3 separate regions of the Homo sapiens genome follow, and all the other regions are linked to region 2. Evidence: promoter capture Hi-C in 16 types of primary human blood cells and fetal thymus (Javierre and others, 2016). All regions are on one chromosome and are shown on one strand. Each heading gives the region's core, a stretch centred on a gene start or on the middle of the fragment in contact. The rest is flanking DNA. Distances are from core to core; before and after follow the strand shown.

Region 1 (4,092 bases), core at 13-2,512, 320 kb after region 2:
AAGAACAAAACAGAGAGTGGCCATGACCGGTCTTGTGTGTGTGGGGAGCCACACGCAGGCAGGAGGTGCCCGCTGGCTGGTGTCCATAACTGGAGGCCTGTGTGTTTGGCGGCCAGCTGAGCCTTCCAGAGTCGCCAGATGTTTTCTGATTCTGTAGCCCTGGCTGCCTGTGGGGAGCCCCCTTTGAGCCATGTTGAGGAAGCTGTGAACTGAAACTGTAGCTTGGGCCTTTTGAAGCCCCTGACCTCCTGCCTGGGCAGAGTGTGCCCCAAATGTCTGCAGCATGCTGCTAGGGACACTTGGGGAGAGATGCCTACTGCGGTTCTTACCTGCAACCTTGTCCCTCCTGGGTTCCTGCTGTTCTGAAGCGAAGGAAAGAGCTCAGATGAAGAGGTGAGCTTGTGGATCAGCTGCTGTGCTCCATGGGCATGGAAGCTTTTGTAAGACAATTTTTCTCTCCACTCCATGAATAAGACTAAAGGCAAGTTTCTCTGCCTTTTGGTCTGGGGACCACATTTGCATAGTCCCTTCCAGGCAGGTGCTGTGTTCACCTGCCTGAGGTTCTGTCGGCCTGGCAGCCTGACTGTGTTGTTCACCATCTTCTCCTGCCAGCAAGGGCTCTGCCATCCTGTTCTGGAGTAGTTTGCTGACCAATGTGGAAAGGCAGGACTGGCCGTGGGTTTGCTGGGTTGTGGCCATCCTGTGCCCTGGGATCCTGCCACAAATCCTGGTCTGTGAACTTTGCTCTGTCCCTGAGTTCGTCATGAAGTGTCTTGTCCAGAATCCAAGAGTCCTGTTGCTGAGTTTCACACTGTTTAAATGGATGCTGCAGCCTCTCTCCTAATTCTGACCCCTCACAGAGTTCTCCACCCTGTTAATCTACAGAGCCCACACATCAGAGACACAGGCATTTACTAGAAAGGCAGTTTTGATTTTTAGCTATGTGAGAACTTTCTCAAGCTCCTCACATTCCATCAGCTTCTGGACCTCTCTAACCTGACTCTGCCCCCACCAGCCTACTGACAGGGCTTTCCTCCAAGACTTTCCCAGTAGCTTCCTAGGAGCAAAACAGAGTGGATGTTTTCCAGCAGTTGATGCTATTAAGGCATCCTTCTTACAGTGCTTTCTTCTGGGCTTCCAGAACTCTCGCCCCAGCCCTCCTCTGCATCCATGACTAGCTCTGATCCTTTGTAGGAGACTCCCTTCCACACACCTGCCCCTCTCTCCTTAAATGTTAGTGCAGATGCACCCTTCACCTGCTACCTTGCCCTAAGGCACTTTCTACTTATTTTATTTTCAGTCCAGACATCTAAATTGCCAAGAGCAGAAATCTATTCAAACTAGCTTAGGCAAAAATGCTGACTGCCTTAAGAACACAGGAAGATCTCATAGACTCCAGGGGCAGAGGTTCTGCTGGGCTTCCCTGGGGCCTAGGCCAGGGAGGGGAGAGTCAAAAGGAACCTGAATGTCTGATTCCATTTCATGCCCCCTTTCTTCTCATTAACCATAAGCCTGACCTGCTTCTCCAGGCTCTCCCTGGGAGCCAGCCACCTGCTACTCCCAGTAGGCTTGCTTTTTCAGCTTAAGCACTTAACTAACTGCTTCTCCACGCCACAAGGGCTTTACAAATGTTCTTTTCCTGTTGACTCAGCTATTCCACTTCTAGGAACTTAATCTTGAGAACATATTGTGAAAGTTGTACTAAGGTTTAAGTTCATGAATGCTCACCACAGAATTATTTATGATGGGGAACAGGTAGAAACACTTTGAGTAGCCAATAGTAAGAGATTGTTAAATCATTGCTGATATATTAATATGATAAACTTTTATCATATTTTTCAAAATGATTCTGAATCATTTTTGAAAAGAATTTATTGAGAAAATGAGAGAAATTGAAAAAAGATGTGAAAGTATATGATCTCAATTTAAAAATATATGCATATTCATCATAAAGTATACCAAATATTTATTAATAGTAGTTATCTCAGGGTGACAGGATGGCCGATGGCTTTTTTTTCTATACATTTTTGTATTTTTTGTTATTTTAAATACAACTCGGTGCAGAACTCTAGCCCTCTTGGAAGCTTCTCTCAGCCTCCCCAGGCTGGGCTGGGTGTCTCTGAGTGTTCCTGGTATTGGACACACGTTCTTATTGTTACACTTACTAAGTGGTCCTCTATTTCTTGAAGAGAAAGCCTTTGTGTGTGCATTTTTATCTTTCTTGGACTCAGGAAAGTACTGACCATGGCTGATAGTAAATGTCTGTTGGTTGTAGAAAGTTAAGTCAACAGAGAAACATTTTTGCTAAGTTCAAATAAATGCCTGTGGCATTTTTCTTCAAAGATGGTTAGAATAATGCTTTTGGCTTCCCTTTTCACTTTCTGAGCAGCTTGGCATTGTATTGATCAGACTAATGATAACGTTGATTATTAGAGTTTAAGAAATGTAAGTATATGTAGCTGGGCACTGAGTCTCATGCCTGTAATTTTAGCTACTCAGGAGGCTGAGGCGGAAAGGTCTCCTGAGCCCAGGAGTTCAAGGCTGCAGTGAGCTGTGATTTTATCACTGCACTCCAGCCTGGGTGACGGAGTGAGACCTTATCTCTAAAAGAGATGTATGTACATGAACATGGTTTAACTGTTCAACTTAGACAACTTTTTATTTTGAGATTATTGTAGATTAATATCCATTTCTGGCCAGGCACAGTGGCTCATGCCTGTAATCCCAGCACTTTGGGAGGTGGAGGTGGGGGGATCACCTGAAGTCAGGAGTTCAAGACCAACCTGGCCAACATGGTGAAACCCTGTCTCTACCAAAAATACAAAAATTAGCTGGGTGTGGCGGCGTGGACCTGTAGCCCCAGCTACTCAGGAGGCTGAGGTTGGAGAAATGCTTGAACCTGAGAGGAGAAGGTTGCAGTGAGCCAAGATTATGCCACTGCGCTCCAGCCTGGGCCACAGGGCAAGAAAGAAAAAATCAATTTCTAAAAAATCATACACAGAGATCCCTTGTACCAGTTTGTTTCCTTTACCTAATGTCTCCCAATGATAGCATTTTGCAAAACCATAAAACAATATCACAAACAGGATATTAACATCCATACAGTCAAGATACAGAATATTTCTGTCATTATAAGTGGCCCTTGTAGCCAAACCCATTTTCTTCTCACCACCACCCCCTTCTTAACTGCTGGCAACCACTCATCTGTTCTCTATTTCTATAATTTTGTCATATCAAGAATGTTACATTGATGAAGAATGTCATATCAAGAATGTAACCTTTTGGGATTTTTTTTTTTTTTTCACTCAGCGTACTTCTCTGGAGATTCATCCAGGTTGGTGTGTGTGTCGATAGTTTGTTCTTTTTATTTCTGAGGATGCTGTGGTGTGGATGTACCACACTTTGTTTAACTATTCACTTGCTGAAGGATATCCGGTCTGTTTCCAGTTTTTGGCTACCCAACATACATGTACAGTTTTCCATGTGAACTTAAGCTGTCATTTTTCTGGGACAAATGCAAGGAATGCAATTTCTGGGCTGAATGGTTGTTACAGGTGTCTCCTTTGAGAAACTGTAAAGCTCTATTCTAGAGTGGCTGAGCCTCTTTACATTCCCACCAGCCACGTCTGAGTGACCCAGTTTATCTGTATCCTTGCCAGCATTTGGGGATGTCACTATTTTTTATTTTAGCCACCCTGAAAGGCATGAGGGATATTTTACTGTAGTTGCATTTTGCATTTCTCTAACAGCGATAGAAGTCAAACATTTTCTCATGGGATTGTTTGCCACCTGTACATTCTCTTTAGTGAAATGTCTGTATTTTTTTTTTTTTCATTTCTCCAACAGGATTGTGTGGTTTTTGCTGTTGAGTTTTTAGAGTTCTTTAGAGTCTGGATAGTAGTCCTTTGTTGGATATGTGGTTTACAAATATTTTCTCCCAGTCTGTTTGACTTTTTATCCTCTTTATATGTTTGTTTACAGAACATCAGTTTTTAATTTTGGTAAAGTCAAGTATAGTATGTCAAGTTTTACTAATATAGACGGTGCCTCTTGTGTCAAGTCTAAGAACTCTGTCTATTCTTAGATCCCAAA
Region 2 (3,998 bases), core at 364-2,863:
GGGGCCCTCTGAGGGAGACAGGGAGAGAGACAGCGCGCGCGAGCCAGTCTCTTGACCTGGGCTAAGGGAGGATCAGCTCTAGGGGCTCCCAGCCCTCTTGGCATGACGTAGGAAAGGCCCTCGGCTGCCCTGCCGGCCCCTGCCTGCCACCTCACCCGCCTTCGGGACCTGCTAGCCGCTCCTCCCGGGCCGGCTGCCTGGACTCTCGGAGTCGGTGGCCCTGGCGGAAATGGCGCCCCGAGCTCTCTCCGCTCTGAAACGAGCGGAAGTTTCCTGTGATTCTTTCCCCGAGGCAGAGCAGACTCTGCTCTGGAGCGACTGAGCCCAGGAAGGGCCGCTTCACTGGAATAGATCCTGACTTGCCTCGACCGGAGCGGGACTGGTCTTCCTCCCGGCTGTTTTCGGAGGGGCGTCAACGGCGGCCGGGACCCAGCGCTCTGTCCTGCAGCTCGATGCTCCTTGCCCAGCGCTGGTGTCCAGCGGCGGGCCTGCCAGGCCTTTTGTTTCCAAAGCGCTGCGTCTTTAAGATCAAGGCTGTATCCCGGGCCGTGCAGGGACCCGACCCACCACCTCGCCAAGGCTCCCTAACGCAGCATTAGAATGTTTATAAAATATTCAATTTATGTAGTCTGTCCAAGAAGCCATCGTCCCAAAATAAAATCAGCAGTCTAGACGGAGCACAGACACCAGAACTTATCAACAGTTGTCTGACTTGCATCTTCTGATGCATCTTGAGTGGGTCATAATACCAACTTTATTTTCAGTGGTGCATAAATTAATTACACGCATTTAATAACCAAAATATCATTATATTCCCCCTTTAATATCATAAAGGCTTTCCGCCAGGGAAGCACTTAATAGTGCAGGGGGCCGTAACGGGCTATTATCCTGGTGTAATGCTATTACAGAACCAATTATGCGCCATTAGACTTGCTTTTTTTGCAGTTTATGTGATTTGATCCAATCCCGCGCCCCTGACTTGAAAATTTCAGCCCGGTACTTTAGAGTTTAATTTTCACCCAGGCAGAGAGAAGGGCGGTCTCTCTCCGTTGAGTGTCTGCCTCGGATGCATTTTAAAAGTAATTGCAAAGGGTCCCACCGCATATCATTTGCATCGAGAAGCGAACATAAATTCAGGGACCCCTTGCTGAGAACAAAATCAAACTTTCCTTTTGTACGATCGTTTGGAAAGGGAAGCCGTGTGCAAAGAGTCCCCCCAAAACCCATCCGGCGGCGACAATTAGCAGCGCTTTGCCAATTTGCAGCCCGGGAGTCACCAGGCCTTTGATAAGGGCAGCCCAAACCAGGCTCTCTCGGAGAAAGGTTTGCCTCTGAGGGGACATGAGGTGGGGGGTGGGGCCTAGTGTGTTTTCGGAAAATGTATGTTTTTGGGGGTGATGGTGGTGGTGGTTGTATCGTTCTCTTTTAAAAGAGGAAAAAGCATTCCTGATGTTTGCTGAGAAATGACGGATTTTTTTTTTAACACCACGTGGGCCATTTGTAAGGCCCAATAGACCTATCCAAGTTACTCGCTGTAGACAGCGCTGGAAATAATCAGATTAAGGCCAATTATGCGTGAGATTATAAAGGCGAGTGCTGAGCGGCGGCGCGCGCTGCAGACAGACAGCAAGACATCTGGCCACTTCCCGAGTCACTTCTTTGGTCCTGCGGGCGCCAGCCGCGCCGAGCCCCGCCCGCCGCCAGCCGAGCAGGGCTTGCGGATCGGAGGCGGTCACGCTCCGACCTCCTCGACCGCCGCCCGCCGAGGTATGCTCGGCTCCTGACCCACTCGCCGGGCCCCGAGCGCCGGGCCTTGGGGCTCGGCTGCCTTCCTGGCCTGAGCTGCAGCTCGCAGATGGCCTTGCGCGCTAGCCGGACCTGGCTGCGGTGGCCCGGGTGCAGGGCTTCTGGCTGGGACCCCAGAGAGCCAGAAACTACGCTGCGGGGTTTGGTGCTGGGGCCAGGGTGAGGGCACGGCCGTCCGGGAGGTGGACACACCCGAAGGACTGCCCTGTGGGGTTGCTGCTTGCGACGGGGCTGCCGCCTTCCCTCCTGTCCCCCGCAGTGAGATGAGGGCGTTGGGAGGGACTTTCCAGGAGGGGAGCGCCGGGTGCGCCCTAGGGCTGGGCGGGAGCGCTGGCAGAGGGAGACTTGAAGCTCTATCGCTGTTTGCTTTGCAGCCAGGCAGGAGCAACGCGCGCGGGTCCGTTCTGCTGCCACCCTCCCAGGTCTCGGCCGTCCAGCCGATCTGACAGCCGGCGATGTTTTATTTCCACTGCCCGCCACAGCTAGAGGGTAAGTAAGCGCTGCGCCCCAGGGTCTCCATGAAGCCAGAGCCGGCCAGAAAGGGCCGGAGCGGCAGCAGGGCTGGTGGGTGGCTGGGTCCCCGCCCTGCGGGGGGCGCAGCCGCCTGCCGGTGAGTAGGGGCCTCCCTGGACCCCTCCCTACACCCCACTCCAGGCCCGCTCCAGCTCCCCGCCCCGTCGCCACCTGCCTCCCAGCTCCCTCCCCGCCTGGGCCAGGACGCCCCGGGCTAGGCGTGCCGCGGGGACCGGCCGAATCCTCCCAGCACAGATGCTGGTGTCACGCCTCTAATTGGGGCTCCGCAACCCAGGGGGCCGCATCAATCTTTCACGGTGCTTCTGCAAACATCCCAGAAAGCAAAGGCGAGTGGACCCGCCGCGTCCTGGCCCAGATCACGAGCTGCACGAGCCTACAAGGGCCCGTCGCTGGGCTGCTCTCACTGGGGCCGCTGGCGAGAACACTGCAGGGGCCTCTTCCGCCCTGGATTCTGGGCAGCTCAATTCCCTTCCCGGCCTCCTGGCCGTCCCTGGAACCAGGTGGCCCTGCCCACCACCTGCCCGGACTGACCTAGCATGGCTCCTTCTCTGTGACTCACTAACCCTAAATGTCGACCACTCCCCACTCCCCAGGCCAGAATTTCCATCTTTGAGTGTCTCCAGGCCTGAGAAGAAATTTCCCCTCAGGATCCCCAGTCTGGCTTCTGCACCCAGTTGTTAGTGGGGGCGTGGGTTGGTGAGAAGGGGACAGTTGGGACCTCAGCATGCCCCTGCTCAGGACCCGAGGGATCCAAGGATGGGGTCTTCACATCAGGGGGCCAATTAGTAGCCATCAGGTGAGCCAATGCCACACTGTGGGCTTTAATGGGGCCTTCTGCAGAGCAGCAGTCTCAGCACTGGGGTATTGGGACTTTTGTAACCGTCGGACTGGCATTTGGCAACCTACTCGTTTGATTTATTATTGTGGTGGGAGAATTTGGGAAGCCAAGTAGTTGTGGGAGACAAGGGGCAGGGTATATGTTGTGAGGCGCTAGGAGACCTGAGACTTCAGGTGATGCTTGTCAGTCTTGCTGCAGGCTGCCCTGAGCAGTGGCTGAGCCTCAGAAAGTTTGTTTTTGTTTTTCTCATAAAAGCTCTTAAGAGTCCAATAGGATTTTCTAAAGGAGGCTAATGAGGACCAGTGTTTAAGCCCTGCTAGCTCTGTCAGCATTCCTAGGAAGGGAAGGCCACACATTTGCCTGCATTTCACATTTTATCCCCAAGTTCCCATGCAGGGTGGGTTTTATGGAAGGGTGGGAGACGTGCATCCCCTGACAGTGTACCCTAGGGGATGAGGGAGACTTTCTGTATGTTAAGGGTGCCTTCTCTGTGCATCTGAACCAGGGGTCTGGACTAATTGCCAGCCAGTGTCCCACCCTTCTGGTCAAAGTGGGTAAGGCAGAAGTTTGGGCATTTGGCAGGTAGGGGACGTCATGAATGTCTGTCTGCGGGGTGGACTGCAGCAGTGAGTTAGGGAGAGTCCTGGCCTGGCCTGCGGTGACCCCAGCTCTCAGCCCAGCTCAGCTGGCTTACTGTGCTCCCCACACCCTGGGCACATCCCACCTCAGTGCTGACTCTGTGATATAACCAGAAGAAAAGGAGATGGGTCTTTAAGAGCCTTTCATCCCTTTGTAGATGTGATTCTATGCCAGTTTTGCA
Region 3 (4,529 bases), core at 157-2,656, 260 kb after region 2:
AAAATATTCTTAATTGTTTTACATGAAGTGAGACCAAAGTTGATTCAAAAAAATAGCGAATATAATTTTTCAGCATAATTTGTTGGCTGAGTCTCCTTTCCTCCCAGACTTGCTGTTTACTTTGCCGCTTAACAATTCTCCATGATGTCATCTCTCTCTGAACTGCCTTCCATCCCCCAATGACCTACTTATTTTCTGTGCTGGCTGCCCCCTCTTGTTTTTGTAAGGCAAGTCTTTGTATTTATTTGTTAAAAAAGGGTGCACTTACACTATTTCCTCTTTTAGCCAGGGGACGTAGTCTTCTGTTTAGGTCAGGCGTGACTTTCATGGCTCAGTAGAGCACCGTGGTGTCTTCCTCCACACAGTGGCCTCACATTCTAGAGAGGAGGGTATTCCTCGGTGCTGGGTGTGTGGGGGATGTTGATGTTGCTTGTGGAATATTGGGATTATTTTCAATCCATCACCTATCTGAACTGTTTAGTATTTGGGATTCAAAGGAATAGAGTTGATGAGACTGACCAAGGGTGGGAAGAGATTAGCCACAGAGGGAAGTGGTAAGAAGCTTGTTGGAGGAAATGAGTGAAGTGCCAGCGTGTTGCAGAGCAGAGAGATGGCAGGTGAACATTTTATCAGGCTGATTGAGGCTGAAGCGTGGTTTGTGCAAATGGAGAAGGAAGAGGCAACTCCCAGAGTCCTAGTGGGAGAGAACCAACCACCCTGGAACTGCAGAGATCCAGGGAGCACAGAGGAGGCAGCTCCCAGAGGGAGTAACGCCTTTTTCAGCCCAACGTGTTCATCAGCTATTTACTCATTATTTCCTGAGTGCTTGTTAATATGTAAAACATTGATCTAGACACTAGAGATATAATGAGGTGGATGGAACGAAGGAAGTCCCTACCTGCCTAAGCTTACATCTAAGGAGGAGAAGACAGATACAGGTAAACCCATGAGATACACACACAGACATTATATACAGCCTAGGGTGGTAAATGCTATCATGGAAAAATAAAGCAGGGTAAGGTGACAGAGAGTTGTAGGGCCAAAGAAAGCTCTTTTCCTGGGGGTGCCAGGCAGGCTCCTCTGACCAGGTGATGTTTCAGAGGAGACCGGAAGGAGAGAGAGCCACACAGGAACCTAGGGGAAAGCCTGGAACAGGCACAAGGAAGAGCAAGTGCGAGAGCCCAGAGCCCGTGAGGGGAGGATGCCGGGCATGTCCGGGAGCAGTGAAGTGTCTGGAGTCACAGGAACTGAGCAAGGGAGTGAGTAGAGGAGAGGGGAGGGGAGGGGTGGGGTGGGGTTGTGGAGGGTTGAGGAGCTAAACAGGGTCAGCGTGGGGACGTAAGATGGGGGAGAGAAGGAGAGATTTTCCACACTGGGAAGCAGGGTCATTTTATGTTGGCTGCTGACTGTATGTATGTGAGCCTATGTATGGTTAATTAATCTGGCATGAATTTGTGTGCATGTATGTGTGTGTGGTTAAGTAAATATGTGTGTGAATTTGTATGTGTGAGCATGTTATGTGTCTATGTGAACACACGTACATATGTTTATGTTACTGTGTGTGCCATATGTGTTCCAGCGTATATGTGTGTCTGAGTGATCATGTATGCGTTTCTTTGTGTGTGAGTGACATAGTATGGACATGTGTCCCCTTCAAATCTCATGTTGAAATTTGATATCCAATGTGAGAGGTGGGCGTAGAGGGAGGTGTTTGGGTGACGGGGACAAATCCCTCATGAAGGGCTCAGTGCCACCCTCGTGGTAAAGAGTTCTCACTCTTAGTTCTGTGAGAACTGAGTGTTGAAAAGAGCCTGTCACTTCCTCCACTCTTTCTTCCTTCCTCTCTTACCCATGTGATCTAAACACACCTGCTCCCCTTCCCCATTTGCTGAGAATGGAAGCTTCCTAAGGCCCTCACCAGAAGCAGATGCTGGCACTATGCTTTGTGTACAGGCTGCAGAAACATGAGCCCAATACACTTCTTTCTTTTATAAATTACCCAACCTCAGGTATCCCTTTGTAAGCCACACAGATGGACTAAGACAGCGGTTCCATGCATGCTTAAGTGTATACAAGTGTCTCTGTGTTTATGTGTTTGTGTTTTTATGTGTGTCTAAGGAGTTAAGAGTATGTGTGTTTTGTGTTTCTGTGTGTCCATGATAATACACAAGACAGAAAAGGAGTTCCCATGGGGAAATGAGAACATGTTGGGAAGCCTCTCCTGGTATCCAGCCTCAGCCTCTGCCCTCGCCATGGGTCACAGAACAGACCAGTGCCATCGATGAGGTCACACAGTAGAGCTAGGATCTTAGCGACCATGGGGAGCTCAGTGTCCACTCTGGCTGGGGCCAGCTGGAGGCCTTCAGTACAGCCCCAGCCAACTCTCACTGAACAGCTGGAGCACCGACACCCTGGGCACTCATTTCAAATCATGAAATGCTACTTCACAGATCACAGGGGAGAACAGTCACCCACCGATGGGACCACCCTCAGCTTGACCAGCCCTGAGTCCACTGAGGAGAGTGTGGAAGTGTTCTGGCCAGGTAGGTGAAAAGAAAGGCCTGGAAGGTCAGCCAGCTGTGCTCCCTGGGAAGGAAGCCCTGATGGGAAGGGACAGTGCCAGGTTGCCTCCTGATACTGTTACCAAATGGTTGTGTTGACCATAAACATAGATGTGGAGGGAAAGGAAATTGATATTTATGGGACACTTGGTGTGACTGAGGCTGTTATGAGTATATAAGGTGTTTTCAGGGGATATGAGAATGAAAATGTAAAATGTTTATAATTATGTATTTATTTTAATGTGTATTTGAGAAAACAACACGTCCATCCTGTGATTTCAGCAGTGAAATAAAAAATTCCTTTATAACAAAATGATGAAAGTTAATCTAGAACATCAATTTGAAGACCGCGGGGACGTGTCTGTGGGCAGCACCTAAGTGTCACACCAGCTCTGGGGGCCCAATGGCTCCACCACTCATTCAAACTCCATGCCTCTCTTTCCTACTCTGTTGAATGGGAATCCTAACAATATAATTTCTTAGGGTTGTTTTGAATATTAAACTTGGCAAGCACTTCCATGGCAAGAGGGACACAGTAAGTGTTGAAGGAGATAGTGAGATGCCCCCTCGGGAAGGTGAAGACAGGTCACAAATGTTGAAGAGGATGGTGGGTCTGGGTGGCTTGGCCAAGGCACTTTGCATGTGTTGTTTTTTAAATGGGCTTTACTGAGGTGTCTTTTATGCACACAGACTTCAGCAATTTTAAATGCACAATTTAAAGAAGTTTGACACATGTACATTTGTGGAACCACCAACACAGTCATGATAAAGAAGATTTTTCAAAACCCCTAAAAGTCCCCTTGTGCCTTATTATGACCAGTCTCCTCTCACCCCGTCCCCAGCTCTGGGCAACCACTGAGCTGTTCTCTGTTGCTAAAAATTTGCCTTTTCTAGAATGTCATCTGAATAAAATCATATACGACATGGACTCTTTTTTTTTTTTGTTCACATTCTCTTATGACTACATGGCCTTTTTAATTGGCTTCTTTTATTTAGCATAATGCATTCAGGATTCATCCGTATTGTTGCACGTCTCAGTGGTTCATGGATTTAACAGGTTGCATCATATGGATACACCTCAGTCAGCTTACCTATTCCCCAGTTGATGGTCTTTTGCTTGGTGATTACTCTAATACATTATTTGATCCTTATCATCATATCCCTAATGTGTATATAACTCTGTTATTCACCATTTAATGGTCTTTCTCAGTTGAGTCAAGGATTTGGTGATTGCATTCATACATTATTCAATCATTACCACACCCTATGAAGCAGGCATTATCACCATCTTCATTTTTTCAGGAAATGGGCAGAGGGGGCGGTGTTTGCTCAAGAGCTCCCAGAGCCTGTACCCTTTCAGAGTCTGCGGCTCCTGAAGGTAGATGTGGCATTGATCCCTTAAAGGGCACTGATGACAATGTCCTTCTGCTTCTCAGGGACTATACAGAGAGAAGGGTCGTCCCCACGGCCGGGGCCTGCCATTCCCCGGGAGGAGGGCCTCTACTTCGCTGCCAGGGACCGGGGGATGCGGGACTGGAGCAGCTCCCCATCCTCAGAGTCCTCCGAGTACCAGTCCTACTCCCAGTACCAGTCGTGCTGCTCCTGCATGTGCGATGAGGACAATGCTGCTCCGCAGAGTGTGTGTGCCTTCTACACGCACGTGCAGACTGTGCGGGGTGTGGCTGTGGCCTGGGAGACGGAGGCCGGCTTCGAGCCGGTCACCAGGAAGCCCCGCATCCATGAAGCCCAGTTCATCAAGAGGCAGAGGTGGAACGGCTCCTCCTTCGAAATGGCTTCCAACACCGATATGCGCTGGGACCTGGAAGCCTGCAAGAGCAACTGCAGCCCCGAGCCCGAGGACATAGACCTGCTGGAGTGCTGCCTGCAGGAGCTGCGGGAGCCGCCGGACTGGCTGGTCACCACCAACTACGGGGTGCGCTGCGTGGCCTGCTGCAGGGTCTTGCCCTC

Evidence for each region. The method cuts DNA at HindIII sites, captures the fragments that hold promoters and counts their contacts. A CHiCAGO score of 5 or more calls a contact.
Region 1: a fragment that was not itself captured here is called in contact with the fragment with the promoter of DRGX in region 2 in 1 of 17 cell types (M0 macrophages); the score reaches 5.0 in M0 macrophages.
Region 3: a fragment that was not itself captured here is called in contact with the fragment with the promoter of DRGX in region 2 in 1 of 17 cell types (M1 macrophages); the score reaches 5.3 in M1 macrophages.

What each region holds. Positions count from the first base shown.
Region 1 is chr10:49,077,734-49,081,825 of GRCh38, reverse strand. All of the region lies in intron 3 of VSTM4 (V-set and transmembrane domain containing 4), which reads left to right. Among named protein-coding and RNA genes, the nearest start is that of VSTM4, 36 kb to the left of the region's middle. The HindIII fragment of the contact is 1,649 bases long and covers 438-2,086 here.
Region 2 is chr10:49,393,704-49,397,701 of GRCh38, reverse strand. It overlaps DRGX (dorsal root ganglia homeobox), which reads left to right and starts at 1,613. Exons shown (of 7, transcript NM_001276451.2): 1 at 1,613-1,767; 2 at 2,181-2,295. The coding sequence starts at 2,262. The HindIII fragment of the contact is 25,200 bases long and covers 1-3,998 here.
Region 3 is chr10:49,131,821-49,136,349 of GRCh38, reverse strand. It overlaps FAM170B (family with sequence similarity 170 member B), which reads left to right and starts at 2,329. Exons shown (of 2, transcript NM_001164484.2): 1 at 2,329-2,543; 2 at 3,998-4,529. The coding sequence starts at 2,432. FAM170B-AS1 (FAM170B antisense RNA 1) reads right to left here. Exons shown (of 6, transcript NR_038973.1): 2 at 269-694. The HindIII fragment of the contact is 994 bases long and covers 910-1,903 here.